Linked DNA regions of Homo sapiens: region 2 is linked to region 1. The links are contacts of gene promoters, found by promoter capture Hi-C in blood cells and fetal thymus (Javierre and others, 2016). All regions are on one chromosome and are shown on one strand. Each heading gives the region's core, a stretch centred on a gene start or on the middle of the fragment in contact. The rest is flanking DNA. Distances are from core to core; before and after follow the strand shown.

The links. The method cuts DNA at HindIII sites, captures the fragments that hold promoters and counts their contacts. A CHiCAGO score of 5 or more calls a contact.
Region 2: a fragment that was not itself captured here is called in contact with the fragment with the promoter of ELOA2 in region 1 in 1 of 17 cell types (total CD8 T cells); the score reaches 5.7 in total CD8 T cells.

The regions. Positions count from the first base shown.
Region 1 is chr18:47,033,943-47,037,480 of GRCh38, forward strand. It overlaps ELOA2 (elongin A2), which reads right to left and starts at 1,679. Exons shown (of 1, transcript NM_016427.3): 1 at 1-1,679. The coding sequence starts at 1,322. All of the region lies in intron 3 of KATNAL2 (katanin catalytic subunit A1 like 2), which reads left to right. The HindIII fragment of the contact is 9,917 bases long and covers 1-3,147 here.
Region 2 is chr18:47,749,645-47,753,505 of GRCh38, forward strand. No RefSeq gene overlaps it. Among named protein-coding and RNA genes, the nearest start is that of SMAD2, 180 kb to the right of the region's middle. The HindIII fragment of the contact is 555 bases long and covers 1,194-1,748 here.

The DNA of each region.
Region 1 (3,538 bases), core at 429-2,928:
AGCCTCTCTGACTGGCTTTCCTGGACAGGAGGCAATTTCTTAGCCGAATCCCAGGACTCACGAGTGCCCTTGGATTCGTTTGCTTTCCTTTGTTTATCTCCAAGTGCAGTGGTGGCAGATTTTCCAGTCTTTTTCTTTTGCTTCCGCAACTGATCGTAGGTGAGGTATTTTTCACATGACAGAGTGGGCTGCTCGAATTCCTCAGCCATATCTACCTCCTCCACCTCAGAGAGGGAGCTCACGGACGTTCTGTCCAAATGAGCAGTCGGTGGCTTCCCCTCTTGAGTCTCTCGGTCGTTGGAAAGCTGCTCTTTCTCCTCGGGCGACAGGCCGTGTGTCCCATTTCCTGGGTCCCGGCCGTCTAGACTGGGCCTCTTCTTGTTCGAGTGACTGTGCTGAGGCCTCTTCTGGTGACTGTCTGGAGCCTCCTCCAAGGCAGGGACACGCTGGCCGCTGCCAGCTTGCCCCCCTTCCTTGTCTGTCTTGAAGTCCGAAGGCTGCCTGTCCCTGGCACTTGCCCAGGAGGGCATCCTTGGGGTTTCCTCTCTTAAGCAGGCCCCGCATGATTTCTCCCTGATCAAAGTAGGGGAGTGCCAATCTCCCTGGGCACACAAGGGGCGTTTTTCCTGGCGAGACGATTTGTGCCCCTTGCTGTGGCTCACAACGGCTTTCCCCTGGGGTTGGCCCTGGCAGCCTGGACACAGCAGAGGCCCGCCCTGAGCCGCGTGAGTGTGGCCTCTTCCGGGTTGCTTCCCGGGCGCAGCGGGCTCAGGGCCCTCGGGCATCCGGAGGGGAGCTGTGCGCGTTGGAGAGGCCCGATAGCGGCCGGAATCAGCTGGGGCTATTCTGGGGCACTTTCTCTCAGCTCTGGGCTCGCGACTGTGAGACCTCGGGTGAGGTCTCTGTTGCCCCGGAGGTGTTCTGCGTGCTGTCCGTCTGTGCTCAGGGCTGTGAGATGGGCTCCTGGGGGCCGTCGCGTTTTCTGGGAAGCCCCAGGCCTTTTCCTGGTCCTGAAGAGCCTCCCCGAAGCGCTGTCGGGAAGCGCTCTCCTCAGGGTCCTGTGGGCCAGGCCGGGTGTTTCGGTCCACGAGCACCAGCTTCTTCCACCGGGCCGCTAAGTCTCTGGCAAAGTCGCCCACGTGCTGGTGCTTCCGCAGGCGCTTCACCGTCTTTCTGATTCCAGTCTCCGCCAGGATGTCTGCCGTCATGGGCAAGGCGGAGAGTTTCTGCAAATATTTCTCTAGCTTTTTCGGCTCCGTCTTAGTGGCCAGACGCACCTGCAGCTTCTCCACTGCGTGCAGCGTAGTGGACCCTGCCGCCATCTCACCAGAGCTGTGCAGGCGTCGCTGTCCCGGCGGTCGCAGCTCTGTCTTTGGGGCTGCGGGACAGGAAGTCTGGGGTGGCCGGTCCTCGCTGCCCGGTCGCCAGGCAGCGACCTCGGGATGTGGAGTCACAGCCTGGAGCGAGCTGGGTCCTCGGAGCAGCAGGCCACTTGGTCTGGAACGGCCGTCCTTGCAGACAGCTGAGCAGGCCCGCTTTTGTTCCTCGGGATGTGGAGCCACAGCCTGGAGTGACCTCTGCAGTTTGCTGTGCAACAAAGAATGAAGCTCTGGTGCCAGAGCTGGGCCTTATGTAGCCCATCCCAGGCTGACACTCACGGCTCTAGCCCTGACCCTCTTAGCTCTTGGGCTGCCCCGCCCCCATACGTACTCATGCCGTCAGCACAATGCAGACAATCGGGACGGTCCACGCCAGGTGGACTGCTGTGCCCCAGAGGTTGATTAGGTTAATTTCAGCCTCGACACACCCCACTGAGTTTTACCGTTGACCTTCCATGTTCGCAGGTTCCACATCTGTGAATTCCAAAAAACACAGACTGAATCTTCTTGGGAGTAAAACAGAAAATAACACAGCAAGACAAAATCATAGAAAGAAGAACCAATACAGGATAACAACTCTTTGCCTAGGACTGATGTTGTGTGAGGGGACTTCCCAAATTTGTCAAAACAGGGATTAAAAGACAAAAATAAAACCGGTAGATTTTATTTCTTAACATCTGCTCCATCAATTTCGAGACAGTAGTTCGAGCACTGTCTTGACCCCGCCTTGTCCCTCAAGCCCTGATGTTTCTGGGAATTTAACTATTTCCAAGAAATCTTTTTTCCATTATTAACTGAAGAAAACTGGGTGCCGTTTGCAGAATTTTTAATACGAGGAAATAAATAGAAGTCAGCAGGTTCCACATCATGACTGCAAGGTGGACGCCTCATGATCTCCTTTTGAAACTCTTGCCAAACTGCCCTTTGTTCAGTGAAATGCTACAGCAAGAACTTTTTCATGATTAGGTAGAACTCTCTGGTAATGGTTTTTCTGCTCATGCTTTGGCTAGTTTTCTCAAAAACTCTGTTAGTAAGCATATTTGATCTTGGTTTGGCCCTTCAAAAAGTCTTTTAGTCATATCTTTTGAGCATTCCCCAAAACTGTTGCCATGACCTCTTCTCTTGACTGGTCCTCTCTGTCTTTGACTGGAGTGCTGCCACCTTTTGGTAGCCTTTGTTTTGTGCTCTTTCTTCAGGACTATCCAGTGTAGCCATGTTTTATCCCCGCTTACAAATCTTGGAATAAATATTTCTGGATCTTCTTCCACCTGTTTTAAAACTTTAAAGAAATTTTTACTCTTGTCTCTAGCTATTATTGTTGAAACAGATTTGGTATCTGGATCGGACTTTAATTTTCAGTGACAATTATTAAAACAGGATCATTTGAAATATCTATGGTTTTTTCTCTTATTTCTGTTGTTACTTATTTACCCTCTCAAATTAGGGAACACTTGGTCCTATGTTTCTGAGCATAGTTGACCAATTCTGACATTGTATTAAATTCAATAAATGTCTTTTCTGGATCTGTAGACACTTCTTTTGATATTTCTAGCATTTTTTTGGGTTGTACAGCATTTGAAAGTTAGGAAGTTTCCTGGCAGAGCCAGGAGATAGTCAGGAAACAAACAAGAAACAAATTAGAACCTACAGGTATATATATTCAACCTTTTAGGGGAATATTAGATGCAGGGACTGTAAAACAGAAGTATAGTAAAGACATTTGAAAGAAGTGATGTATGCTTTTTAACTGTTTGTTTTTGAGATTGAAAGCTTAATGCAAAATTTGGATCTTATTACTGAAATTGAAACGAGCTCATGCAAATTAATCTCCATTGCACCCGTAAAAAGGAAATTAAAAGCACTAATGTTGCATGTGGTGTATATACAGTAACATTTCCTAAATATCTTCTGGGTCTAAAACTGGGAATGATATTCAATGCTTCCTTTTCCTCAGGCTATGGTATCATAGGATTCAATTTTGAATTTGATAATGGAGGTATATTTGTGGCACAATAGCCCACAAAGGAAATGAAAGAAAACAAAAACAGCCAGATTATTGAAACATGCAAATGAGACACCTAGATTAGATGTTCACTTCTGGGCCTCCTTTCTTTGTACACAGAAATTAATGAGCATGTAATTGTGTCCATTTCAGGGGC
Region 2 (3,861 bases), core at 221-2,720, 720 kb after region 1:
TTTTAGGGATGACATGTTCAGGGGAGAGGGCCAGGACAGGCTGGGCAGGGCTGCTTTTGAGAGGCCTGAAATTAACAAGGACGCTACGCCTTTCTGGTGGATTTGCGGACCACTGATAGGGTCGTTAACAAGAGCCTCCCATACCTGCTACTGGGATGGCCGCTACTGGGCTCGGCCGCAGTTTTCAGGGTAAGTTTGGGCCCTCAGCCTGTGTGTGTCTCAGCCCTCCTCAGACCAAACCACAGTCATTGACTTGGTCTCCCTGCTCAGTTGTCAGTCTGACACAGATACACACATATACACACACATGCACACACACATATACACACATACACACATATACACACATATACATAAACATACATATACATGCTTATACATACATATACATACACACATTTATACAAATATACATACACACACATATACATACACACATTTATACAAATATACATACACACACATACACATACATACACACATACACATATACATACACACACTTATACATACATACACACGTTTATACACACATACACATATATACATACACTTATAAACCCATATACATACACACATTTATATACACATATGCATATACATACACACATTTATACACATATGCATATACATACATTTATACACACATATTCATACACTTATACACACATGCATATACATGCATACACATACATATACACACATACACACAGATATAAACACATATACACATGTATACAAAGATATGCACACACATACACCCATATACACATACACACATATACACATATACATACACACATGCACACGTATACACATGCACACATCTCATATATATGCATACATATACATGTACACATACATATAGACATACACACATGTACATACACACACACACACACACCACACTGGGAGCTGCTGAGGGGCAGGCCCCTCTTGGTGCCTGACGCCTGGAGTAGCCACTCACTAAATGCTGGATGAATCAATACCTGGAACAGGCTGGATGCCCACCTGGGGGAAACAGCACCTAGGGATGGGAAAGCAGGGTGTAAAGCTGTGGCCAAAAGTACCAGCAAGAACCAGAGAGGGATCTAGTGATGCCCCAAGGGACCGAGGACCCTACGGGCTGGGAGGTCAGGAAAGAACCCTGGAGGAGGCAGGGTCTCCACTGGCCCCTGGAAGCTGACACTAGAAGCTTAGAATGAGGACCTGGAAGCTCAGAGGGTTTCTAGTACCCCCCAATCCCTCAGTAAGGGGAACTGGGAGGGGTGGCCTCCAACAAGAATCAAACTACTGCTCCCCTGTCCACCAGCCCTCACATAACCGTGCCCTTTCCCGACACCAAGGCAAAATCCCACCCTCTTCTGTTTTAAAGCAAGCTGAGGGGGGCGGTCAGTGTGAAGGGGGTTGTCCCTCCTACCCACTGCACTGATGCCTTGGCACTGCACTGATGCCCTGCCCGGAACCTGCACTGATGCTCTGGCGCTGCACTGATGTCCGGGACCTGCACTGATGCCCTGGCAGTGCACTTTCTGCCTGGGACCTGCAGACTTCCCACATGCTCCTCATCTCCACCTGCCAATCATCAACCACATGGAGTCCGCTGAGAGTCTTGCTCCTCCTGCCTCTGCCCTCAGGCCTGGGACCTGAGTACTTCAGTGCTGAAGAAAACCGACCAAGGAGTCCTGGCTGGAAACCAAGCCATGTGCTGTCCTGCCAACCCCCATGCATCCTCCCCACAAGGCTGAAGCTTTTGCTAGAAAACACCCCACATGGTTAGAGAATGGGTGTTAATGACATGAAATGGGCACTCCCTCCCCAGAAAGCCTTCCCTGGCTTACTCATCATTACAGGACAACCTTGGAATCTATGGCATAACCTGACAGATATGGCTTCTCCATCATATGATTGATCTAAATCAGTGGTTTCAGAGGGAGCCTCTTGCTGGCAGGTTATATCCATGGGTCTCAGCGGGAAATGTGTGGATGAGGAGGGGACAAGGCCTTTTGGGTACCACCCCTCCTTAAACAAGCAGCTCCACCTTCACATCTACAGAGGCCATACAGCCTGGTAACCACATGCCTAGGCTAGGAACCAGGCTACCTGGGTTCAATTCCTAGCCTTTTCACTGACACTGTGTGACCATGAGCAAGTTTCTTAACTCCTCTATGCCTCATTTTCCTCATCTATAAATTAAGATGTTAGTAGTAACCTAACTCAAAGGATTGTTGGGAAAAGTAATTGAATTAACACAGGTAAAGTGTCTGGCATACGGTAAACGCTCAATGAATGTTAGCTATTAATATTAACTGGTGTATACAATGGAATTCTACATATGCTTGAAATAAGACCAAAACATGTTTGAAAACCCACTAGATTTCATGATCTCCAAGGTCCCTTCTGGCTCTAAAATTCAATAATTTTAAGGTGATATCTTTTAACTGTCACTTTTGCATCTCCAAGCCCTAGCACCTGCTGTTCTCTGCCAGATACACCATTTCCTACTGTCTGCCTAGTGAACGCTGACTTCTCCTTCCTGCCTCAGTTTAATAGCTGCCTCCTCCAGGAAGCATTCTCTCCCTGCTCCAGGCAGAATCGGTCCAGTCTTTCCTTCCCACATGTTCCTTGCACACTTTTAAAATAATACAGAGTCCCTGATACCTATGCTGTCCCATGCTTCTGTTTCCTTTTTGCCCTCTTGCAGGACCCACAGACTCCTGGAGAGCCTACTCATGTCTATAGCCCCCATGCCTGGCCTAGAACAGGCAATTGCCTAGAACAGGCAATGTACTCATCAGTTTTTTGTTTTTTGTTTTTTGTTGTTTTCTTTGAGATGGAGTCTTGCTCTGTCACCCAGGCTGGAGTGCAATGGCATGATCTTGGCTCACTGCAACCTCCGCCTCCCAGATTCAAGCAATTCTCCTGCCTCAGCCTCCCAAGTAGCTGGGAATACAGGTGCGCACCACCACGCCCAGCTAATTTTTTGTATTTTTAGTAGAGACGGGGTTTCACATGTTAGCCAGGATGGTCTCCATCTCCTGACCTCGTGATCCACCAGCCTCGGCCTCCCAAAGTGCTGGGATTACAAGCATAAGCCACCGCGCCTGGCCACTTATCAGTTTTATAGTGAGGAAACTGAAGCACAGAGGTATGAAAAAAATGGCTGGAAACACTCAGAGTCAGAGCTGGGAGGAAGAACCAGGCCTCTGGACCACTAGACAGGATCTGAGGCTTCTCTCAAGGGCAAGGGTCAGGGCAGGGAGGGTGTCACCATCTCAATTCCAGGGCAGGCTTTGGCACAGCCAGGTGGGGCAGGTGCGGGCATCTCTATTAGGGCTGAGAAGGACTTAGATGAGGGACCAGCCCCACCACCAAACACAGAGGCAGTAGCATCGCCGATGGGGTCTGGGGATGCCATCTCACACCTGGACCATTGCAGTAGCTTCTAACTGTCCTCCACACTTGCCCCATGTCCCCGCCTCTATCCCTCCACCTGCCACATGCCAGCCAGAATGACCTGGTGAAACATGGGTAGAATCAGGTCCCTCCCTGCTCAAAACCCCCACAGCCCATCTTATTCACCATTAAAGCCAAAGTCCTCTCAATGGCCTCCAAGGCCCCACATGCTCGAATCCAACCACAGCTTCTACATTTCTCCTCCCTGCTCATTTTGTTCCAGCCAGGCTGGCCCACTCAACAGATACCAAGCACAGTCCCATCTTGCACCACTGCCCTTCCTTCTGCCTGCAATGCCCTCCCGCAGACAGCCACACGGCTAACTCCATCACAGTTTTCAGATGGCTGCCCAAGTTCCCCTCCATGAGGCCTACCCTGACCACCCTATCTAAAAGAACAGCCCGT